Linked DNA regions of Homo sapiens: all the other regions are linked to region 2. Evidence: promoter capture Hi-C in 16 types of primary human blood cells and fetal thymus (Javierre and others, 2016). All regions are on one chromosome and are shown on one strand. Each heading gives the region's core, a stretch centred on a gene start or on the middle of the fragment in contact. The rest is flanking DNA. Distances are from core to core; before and after follow the strand shown. Region 1 overlaps FBXW11 (F-box and WD repeat domain containing 11). Region 2 holds the start of FGF18 (fibroblast growth factor 18). Region 3 overlaps FBXW11 (F-box and WD repeat domain containing 11).

Region 1 (3,150 bases), core at 542-3,041, 520 kb before region 2:
TAGTTTATGGTAGTTAATAAAAATGCTGTGCAAAAGTTTAAAATTTTTATCTAGTTTAAATTTTCCTTTTTTTTTTTTTTTTGCTTTTTTTTGAGCCAAGGTCTCATTCTCTCACCTAAGTTGGAGTACAGTGGCACAATCATGGTTCACTGCAGCTTCAACCTCCCAGGTTCAAGTGATCCTCTTACCTCAGCCCCCTGTGTAGCTGGGACTACAGGCGTGTGCCACCATGCCTGGCTAATTTTTGTATTTTTTAGTAGAGGCGGGGTTTCACCATGTTGATCAGGCTGGTCTTGAACTCCTGAGCTCAATGATTTTGGCCTCCCAAAATGCTGGGATTACAGGTGTGAGCCACTGTATCCGGCCCCCACTGCGTTTTTATAAATAAAGTTTTATTGGAGCACAGCCACACTCATTCACTTACATATCATCTGTGGCTGCTTTCATCCTATAACAGAAGAGTTGAGTAGTTGTGACAAAATCAGTGAGTCCTGCAAAGCTCAAAATATTTACATCTGACCCTTTACAGAAAAAGCTTGCCAACCCTACTCTGGAGTATTTGTGTATTCATGTGCTATGAAAGTATCTTGCTTTTCAGTAGAGAGGCTTATTTATGGTGTATTTTGATGTCTGGTAGGACTGATTCCCCACTTTTCTTTTTTTGTATTTTTTACTGAATACTCATGTAAGTTTGCTTTTGAATATGAACTTGAGTATCATTTTGTCTAGCTCCATAAAGAATTTTCTTGTGGGGTTATTGGGGAAATGTTAAACTTATAAATTAGGGAGAACTGTCATCTTTCGAATGTTGAGTTCTCTTATCCAACAATAGTTATGAAGAAAAGAATAGAGAAACCTGTCAAAGAATTAAATCAGAAAAATGTATCAGGTCAGTGTGGATTCACAGAGAATTCCACCAGACCTTTAAAGAACAAATGGGCCAGAAGCTCTATAAATTGTTCCATAACATTGATTGAAGGAATTGTTCTTCTTTTTCTAGGAATTGCTTTTAGTTTTATTATCTTTTGATCAGAGGCTCTTATTTTCTAATTTTTCTTTTTTATTGAACTTATTTCTTTGTGATCTAATATATGATAAGCTTTCAGAAATTTTTTACACGTGCTGGAAAAGCAAGTTTAGTCTGTGTAAACAGGTTATCATATCCTGTAAGACCTGCCTGCCTTACTGATGCTTATGAATTTTTATTTTTTGTTTTCTTGAGCTGTCTTGTAGTGAGAGTAGTGTGTATAGTGTATTTATATCCATGTCTCTCTGCATTTCTTTTAGTTTGTTTCTGTTCATGATGTGCTTTCTTTGCTCTTTTATTTTTGAAATTTCTTTTTATAGAGAGGTTTGTATTTTTGTTAGTTTTAATTATAATTTTTGTAATGCCTCTATTTCCTGTTTTTTTTTTTTTTTTTGGTGAGACAGGCTCTCACTATGTTGCCCAGGCTGGAGTGCAGTAGCATGATCATAATTCAGTGTAGCCTCAAACTCCTGGGCTCAAGTGATTGGGGCCGCCCGCCTCAGCCTACCAAGTCACTGGGACTACAGGTGCGGGCTACCACATCTGGCTAATTTTTAAATTTTTTTAAGAGATGGGTCTTGCTGTGTTGCCTAGCTGGTCTTGAACTCCTTGGCTCATGGGATCCTCCCATCTTGCCTTCCCAAAGTGTTGGGATTACAGGCATGAGCTACTGCACCTGGCCTGCAGTTTTAAAGTTGTGTTATTTCTTTGTCTGAATATGACATGTGATTCTTCTGTTATCTTCAGACTTGTTTTATTCTTTTTTTTTTTTTTTTTTTTTTTAGATGGAGTCTAGCTCTGCTGCCCAGGCTAGAGTGCAGTGGCACAATCTTGGCTCACTGCAACCTCTGCCTCCCAGGTTCAAGCAGTTCTCCTATCTCAGCCTCCCGAGTAGCTGGGACTACAGGCACCCGCCACCATGCCTGGCTAATTTTTGTATTTTTAGTAGAGATGGGGGTTCACCATATTGGTCAGGCTTGTCTCGAACTCCTGACCTCAGGTGATCAGCCCGCCTTGGCCTCCCAAAGTGCTGAGATTACAGGTGCGAGCCACAACACCTGGCTCAGACTTGTTTATTCTTAGAGCCATAATTGTTTTAAATGTTTACCATTAATTTTTTTGACAATTTTTTGCATCATCTCAGGATTACTCAAGGAAACCTTTACCCTTTATTTTCTAAAATTTTGGAAGATGCTGCTCCACTGATGCCTTGCTTGGTGTGTTGTTTCGAGAAGTTTGATGCCAATCCAATTAATGCTCTTTCTCTTTAAAGGTTTCTTCTTAAATTAAAAAAAAAATTTGGGGTGGGGATTGAAAACATTTTTTCTTTATTTTTAAAGTCTAACAATTGTCTTAGGATATCTCTTGGAGTTTATTGCTGTGGGCCAGTTTCCCCTATTACCTGGAGCCCCTTTCAACATGTAGTTCAGGTTTCCTTTTATCTCTGGAAAGCTTTTTGAATTATCGTTTTTTTTTCTTTTTAAATAACAGCTTTATTGAGACATAACTCAAATATTGTAAATTTACACATTTAAAGTGTACAATTCAGTGATTTTTAGTATAGTCACAGAGTTGTATAACCAGTGCCACAGTCAGTTTAGAACATTTGTATCACCACCAAAAGAAACACGCTACCGGCTGGGCGCGGTGGCTCACGCCTGTAATCCCAGCACTTTGGGAGGCCGAGGTGGGCAGATCACGAGGTCAGGAGATCAAGACCGTCCTGGCTAACACGGTGAAACCCCGTCTCTACTAAAAATACAAAAACAAAATTAGCCAGGCGTGGTGGCAGGCGCCTGTAGTCCCAGCTGCTCGGGAGTCTGAGGCGGGAGAATAGCATGAACCCAGGAGGCGGAGCTTGCAGTGAGATCAAGCCACAGCACTCCAGCCTGGGCTACAGAGCGAGACTCCGTCTCAAAAACAAAACAAAAAACAAACAAAAAAAACCACTGTACCCTTAGGCTGTCATTCCCTATATCCCTCACCCATCCAACCCTAGGAACCGCTTGGATTATAGTTTTAAAGGTTATTTTTATTTTATTTTTTTCTTTAGAAACTCCAATTATATTTAGGTTGGATCTCCTTTGTTTTCCATGTTAACTACTTTCTCACTGCCCATATTG
Region 2 (3,332 bases), core at 648-3,147:
CTAGCTCTGGGGATCTCCACAATCCAGAAGGCTAAGGTCTAAGAATCTTCTCTAATCCCGGAAAGCCACCTGCCTTCCACCGAGGGGGAAGGGTCAGACAACCCTCTTTTGACCTGTGTCCAGTTCCTCCTGGCCTGGCCCCTTGCAGCACTAGGTGGGTGGGGGCTTGGGGAGCTGACGCTTCCTATTCCCTTTGCCCGCCGCCCCCCGACCCCCACCATGCAGAGGCAGCCCTGGTCTGGTTCTAATCGGGGCTGAAGTCGGCTCCCTTTTTCGCTCTTCTCTCTCCCTCCCCCCAACCCTTTTTCCTTCATTTCTACGGCTTTGGAAGCCAGAGCGTTCCAACTGTCTGCGTGCCAAGACCTTCCCGAGTCTGAAAGCTGCTGAAGTAACAGATCAGATTTTAGCAAGTGCTTTCCAGGCCGAGCGCCAAGCCCTCTTCTGATTCACGGAGAGCGAGCGAACCGGGAGCAGGCGGGGAACCAACGAGGGCTGCACCACCTTAGGCGAGGGAGTGCGGAGCGCGGCCCATCCGGGAGCGGCCTCGCGGGCAGCGGCCACTCGGCCTAGGCGCCCTCGAGCTTCCCCTCGTCCCGGGCATGTGTGTGTGTCTGTGTGTGTGTCTCAGTGCTGCAAGCGCCTTCAAAACCACAGAGTAATTTACAACTGAAGCTTTCTCCCTGGACTCGAAATCCACTCGGCTGAAAGTCTTTTTGTTTGGAAGCGGCGATGTTAAGGGAAGGTTGGCAGAGAAAATCCCTAGGTCCTACCCCTCGCTGGCTGCGGGCAGGGGTCTTAGAGCTGGGTATATTGTTGCGGCTGAGCCCGCCGGCTCTGCGGGATCTCCTCCCAGCCGAGGCCGACAGTGGCCGCGACAGCCAGCGCCTCCTCGGGCCCCGCGGCAGAGCCCCTTGCCCTTGGCCGGTTCCCCGCCGGCGCAGGGCGCACGCGGAGCCGCCCTTCCGCGCCCTGGGAACAGGTGCACTGGGCTCAGCGCCCAGGAGGGGTGGGGCACAGGGAGGGGGCGCGGCCGGGGAAGGGGGGTCGGCGTGTACCGCGAGGCAGGGGCGGGAGGAGGTCAAAGTCAGGAGCCCACGTACCTGTACCTGGAAGCACAGCAGCAGGAAGTGTAAACACCTGCGGGAAACAGATGGAGAAGCGGTCAGTGGGACCTGAGGAAGGGGGCGCACGGACAGACAGACACGCAGTCGAAGAGTCAGGTGAACCGACGGGCGGGCAGACAGAGGTACAGGGCACAGGCATACGGACAGACAGCCAGGCAAGGTGGGCAGCCCCGCGCGCGGGCGCTTACAGGCAAGTGCAGGCGGAGGGCGCTGAATACATCGCTGGGCGGGAGGGAGGCGGCGGCTCCTAGCCCAGCCTGCACATGTCCGCTCCGCGCGGCCGGGACCGGGCGCCTCCGCCGCCGCCGCCGCCGCCGCCGCCGCTGCTGCTGCTCCCTCCTCGCCGGCTGCTGCTGCTGCAGACTCTGCTGCTCCGGGGCGCTCCGCGGCGCGCCCTGCGGCATCAGCGCCCCGCGCGGCTCCTCCCGAGCGCTGCGCCCTCCGGGCTGGCGCAGGGGCTGCGGGGCGGCAGCCGCTGTGCAGGAGGCGCCTGGCCGGTGCGGGGAAGCTCGCTCACTGCTGGCCGGCCGGCCGTCCGGGCGTCCGTGGGAGGCTGGCTGCCCGGCTCAGTCCGGGGACAGCATGCGCGGCGGGTCTGGAAGCCGAGTTGCGCTCTCCGGCCCGGGCGCGGAGCTGCGTGGGGCCAGGGGTCAGCGCTCCGGGGTCGGGGCGCGCGGCTGCAGCGCGAAAGCGTCACGGCCGCTCCGTCTGGGCGCCCGCCGGCTCATGTCTCCTCCTCCGCGTCTCTCCGGCCGTGCGCATCGCCGCCTCCCACCACTGGCGGCGGCCGGGGCGTTTTCTACGCGCGGGCGGCGAGGGGGCGGGGGGCCGGGGGCGGGCCCGGGCCCGAGCCGGCACAATGAGGATGCGGGGCCTGGGGGCTCCCCCCTCGGGGCGCGGCCGGACGGGCGCTCAGCTCGCCTGGGTGCGCCCAGCCCACATCAAAGGCGGCCCTGCCTGCTCGCCTGCCTGCCGCGGCCTCTCGCTGCCTCCTCCTCCTTCTCCTGGCGGCTCGGGGTTGGAGGGGAGGCGCTCAGACTCTCGGAGACGGGACCGGCAGCTCCAAAGGGGCAGGACCCGCGAGACTGAAGCTGGTGAGCGCTGGAAGCCGTCGGAGCTCTGCGCCCGAGCGCAGTGACCGCTCCTCCGCGCAAACGTTGCCCAAATTGGGCAGGCGATGCTCCCCAAGAACGCAGTTAGGTACGGAACGTCCTCACCTGCCCACATTCGCTACTCGCACTCACTCACCAGCGCTCTAGTGGAGAGCCGAGAGGGGCGGGTCAAACCCAGCCCCGGGGCGGCTCCACTGAATGGGGGTCGCTTTTACCCGCCCTGCGATCGTGGAGTTTCCCAGCCACCCTCTTGACTGGCTACCCACTTAAGTGAGCCCCCGTCCTCTTCTTACGTCCCTGCCGCTGCGAAGGGGGCTCCCGGGCATCTCTCCTTCCCACCCCTCGCCCCCTCCGGGGCTCTGGGGTCGGTTCACGGGATCCCAGCTGGACTCTCCCGTAGGCGAGCCAGCTTTGGAAACACACGGCTACCACCAAGCGGCCCCGAGACGTCACTGCAACCCCAGCACGGACGGCTGCACGCCGGGGAGCAGCCAGCAGGACTCTGGTCAGCGACCACGCTGAGGCCCTCTTCCGGCCTCCTCCCAAAACCGGACTAAGACTTGCCTCCGTTTGCATACTAGGCAGCTTCGTTCCTTTAACCAGGGCCCCATTCAGGACACTGGTTCTTACCGCCTCTGCCCCTTCCAGAGGCATAACTCCTGTCCTTCCCACCAACCCCAAAACGTAGGTGTTCTTGTCACGTACCTGCCTCACTGTCTAGAGCTGGTGTCAGCCAAGCTCTGCTTGAGCCTGATGCTAAGGAAAATAGGTCACAGTGAGAAAGACGCTGGAGGACAGGCTCAAGCAAAACTCAGGAATCTGGACTATTTGGTTAAAGCCTCCTTGCGTTGGCAATGGTTGATGGTCCACTGGAGCATAAACTGAGGTAGGACTGTCGAACAGTGCTATTTGCTGAAGCCATGACTATAAAACATTAGTAATTGTTCCAAATATCAGGCCTCCTTGCAAGCTATTTTAAGTTCCCTTTCAAAGCTGAGGCTATTTTAAACAGATAGCCTCTGTTTCAACATCGGACACAAGTGCAGAAAACCTTTTCAAAACCAGGTGCTGAGGGGGAAAATTCCTGCATGAAGCT
Region 3 (3,264 bases), core at 112-2,611, 540 kb before region 2:
TGGAGTATAGTGCTGCGATCTTGGCTCACTGCAACCTCCACCTTCCAAGCTCAAGCAATCCTCCCACCCCAGCCTTCCGAGCAGCTGGTACTATGGGTGCATACCACCATGCTTGGCTACTTTTGTATTATTTGTAAAGGTGGGGTTTCACCATGTTGCTCAGGCTGGTCTCGAACTCCTGGGCTTAAGTAATCCCACCACCTCGGCCTCCCAAAGTGCTGGGGCTATAGGCGTGAGCCACCTCACCTGGCTAGGTGTAGTCCTTAAACTCTCTTCTTTGCCCATCCACTTGTGATGTATGCTGATGTAAGTATTCTTTTATTAAACATGTGTAAGAATATCTCTGGATAGAGAGTGTTTGTTGTAGTGGAAAGAAAATCAGCTTGTCAGGTTTAATTTACTAGTCCTAATTCTGCCATCAGTTAGCCCTTATTCCCCTGCACCTTGGACAAGTTGCTGGTTTTTTTTCTTTTCTTTTCTTTTCTTTTTTTTTTTTTTGAGGCAGTCTCGCTCAGTCGCTTGGGCTGGAGTGCAGTGGCGTGGTCTTGGCTTACTGCAACCTCTGACTCCCAGGTTCAAGCAATTTTCCTGTCTCAGCCTCCCAAGTAGCTGGGATTACAGGTGTGTGCCACCACACGCCTGGCTAATTTTTGTGTTTTTAGTAGAGACGGGGTTTCACCATGTTGGCCAGGCTTGTCTTCAACTCTTGACCTCAAGTGATCTGACCACCTTGGCTTCCCAAAGTGCTAGGATTATAGGTGTGAGCCACCATTCCTGGTCTGTGTTGCTGTTTTAACAAATCAGGCTCTCCTTTCTGTTTTAATTAAAAAAATTTTTTTCTTAATGGAAAAAAAATTCCATGGGACTCTGCTTGATATCTCTTTCCTGATCATCAGTTTCCTCATCATAAAATGGAATAATACCTATTTTACAGGGTTATTGTGAGAGTTTACTATTTCAGCTGTCTAGCACATAACAGAAGCTTGATAAATGGCAACTACTTTCATTATTTTATTTCATTATTTTATTCAGCACCTTCTGTGGTTGGTACTCTGCAAAGTGTTGAGGCAACAAAATTTGTGTACCTGGAGTTTCAATGATATATTGCCACTGTATTGGCTTTGGAATAAAGGCACACCTTGGAAGTGTGTCATTTTCATTGCTACCAGAAAGCTGCTCAATTTTTTTATTCCATTTGGTTCCTCTGATTTTGTATTCTTTAAATGCCTTTTCTAAGTAATCTCAATATTCCGTGTATCATAGGTGAACTGTAACTAGTAAGTGACAGATACTAGATAGGAACCCAGGTCTCTCTGATTTCAAGCAAAGCTATCTTTGTTTGTATTGCAGTTGGGTGATAATAGAATTTATCCACTAAACCAGAACACTTTTGAGAGTGAAAGTTATGAGGGGACAATAAGTGTCATCCAGGACTATCTCAGGCAAATGAGGGTGTTTGGCTATTCTAATTATAGCTAGAACAAACAAGTTTATGAGCTTGGGTCCAAGACTTCTGGGATGTTTTGGTTGAACCCAAACACTCACCTTTAATTTTTGTTACATGAGTATTGATTTTGCCATAGTAAATTAATTGACTTTATATCTGAATGATTGAACAGTATGGTCTAATGGTTATTAACTTTACAGTATGGTCTAATGGTTATTAAGTAGTAGCCGTAGTACATATGTTCATTTTATATTTTACTTTTTTTCTTAATTCCTTTAAAATCAGCAAGCTTTTAAAAGAGGATCGAAGAGGTAAATTAAATAAGCTTTTTAATTCTTAGTCATGTCAGACGGACTTTGTAAACAAAGTCTAAAATGAAAATCATGACGTTCCAATGTTTTTCCTTTGGGAAGGTGGAGATGTGATGACACTGAAAATCATGCATTTTAAATCACCTCTTTTATTGCCTTTATCTATCAGTCTGTCACCCATCTTTCTTGTTCTTTTTGCCTTATTCTTTAGGTCTCCTGTGATTTTACCTTAGGGAGGTGCAAAACTTTACTCACATGATAAAAGTTGGGGTGATATAAGTTTTCACAATAGCAGCATCATAGTCTTGTGGAAAGAATGTGGGTTTTGGTAGCAGACAAACCAAAGTTTGAAATTCTGGCTCTCCCCTCCTTTGTTGTGTGTCCTTGCGCGAATCACTTAACCTTTGAGCCTCGGTTTCCTTACAATGATATGAGGATTAGAGAACAAATGTAAAGTGCTGGGCAAATAGCACTTTTTGTGGTTTTGTAGGTTCTTAAACAACGATGACAATTATGGTTATGTGACATAGACGAGAAACTGTGGCACTGATGAAATTGTAGTCGACAATCTCACCACTAATCTTGTTTTGCACTCAAACTTTCACAGTTCCCTTTGGTGGGTTTTTGTTTAAACATTCTCTCTGTCCCTCTTGATTCTATTCACTGTACCCTGAGAAATTAGTGGTTGGCAGCAGAAACCTCCTTTCCATAGAACATCAAGTGGGCCCTCCCCCAAGGTTTCAGTGAGCTGTCTGGGACCATCCCTAACCTCCAAACTGCCAAGGGTGCACCCCCTGCCCCAACTAACATTCAAGTTGCCTGTGTGAAGGAGTGATTTGTTGCGGCCTCTAACTGCTTCTTCTCTTCCTTCCTTTTTGTCATCCTGCAGTGTTCTGTGCCAAGGTCTTTGTGGCTAGGCTGCGCCAACCTGGTAGAGAGCATGTGCGCACTGAGTTGCCTGCAGAGCATGCCCAGTGTCAGATGTCTCCAGGTGCCTCTCTTCTTTCTTGTTGTAAATGTGTTTTTACGTATGCCATGAACATTTGTTGAAACTTGCAGTAGTGTGTTTAATCCAATGTTAAGTCTGCTAAATGTTCTGTGTAACCCTCTGCTTTCCTCCAGCCTGGGTGCCCCACATGGAGGAGTTAGTACCAAGAGGGGCCCTTTTGAGCAAACGGGTCTTTGGCTGGGCCCTGTCCTCCCCTTTTCTGCTCCTGCTTTTTACTCTTTTCCCCTCACCTTGAGGTTGTAATTCTCATGTTTAATAGTTGCGCATGTGCCAAAAAAAACTCCTGACATTTTCCATTTGGCTACCTTTAACAGTTCTTTGTTGAGTTGGGAGGGTTTCATAATTAAAGTGGTGATTTTTTTCTATTTTGAAACTCATCCTTTTGGCTTGCTTTCTCTCCCCTCTTCAAAAAAGGAGCGGGGAGGGAATCACTACTGGCATAAAGCCTCAAACTGAAGTTTATAAAGATCATAGCTTTATGCTGCCAATAATTTGTC

What was found. The method cuts DNA at HindIII sites, captures the fragments that hold promoters and counts their contacts. A CHiCAGO score of 5 or more calls a contact.
Region 1: a contact is called between a fragment that was not itself captured here and the fragment with the promoter of FGF18 in region 2, in 3 of 17 cell types (M2 macrophages, M0 macrophages and M1 macrophages). The highest score is 7.5, in M2 macrophages.
Region 3: a fragment that was not itself captured here is called in contact with the fragment with the promoter of FGF18 in region 2 in 2 of 17 cell types (M2 macrophages and M1 macrophages); the score reaches 6.0 in M2 macrophages.

Annotation. Positions count from the first base shown.
Region 1 is chr5:171,934,770-171,937,919 of GRCh38, reverse strand. The region is part of intron 2 of FBXW11 (F-box and WD repeat domain containing 11); the gene reads left to right. Among named protein-coding and RNA genes, the nearest start is that of FBXW11, 70 kb to the left of the region's middle. The HindIII fragment of the contact is 1,380 bases long and covers 1,102-2,481 here.
Region 2 is chr5:171,418,212-171,421,543 of GRCh38, reverse strand. It overlaps FGF18 (fibroblast growth factor 18), which reads right to left and starts at 1,897. Exons shown (of 5, transcript NM_003862.3): 1 at 1,313-1,897; 2 at 1,101-1,137. The coding sequence starts at 1,344. RefSeq lists silencers at 1,391-1,470, 1,531-1,580, 1,721-1,830, 1,951-2,060. The HindIII fragment of the contact is 2,658 bases long and covers 675-3,332 here.
Region 3 is chr5:171,957,082-171,960,345 of GRCh38, reverse strand. FBXW11 (F-box and WD repeat domain containing 11) reads left to right here. Exons shown (of 14, transcript NM_001378974.1): 2 at 2,648-2,749. Among named protein-coding and RNA genes, the nearest start is that of FBXW11, 48 kb to the left of the region's middle. The HindIII fragment of the contact is 754 bases long and covers 985-1,738 here.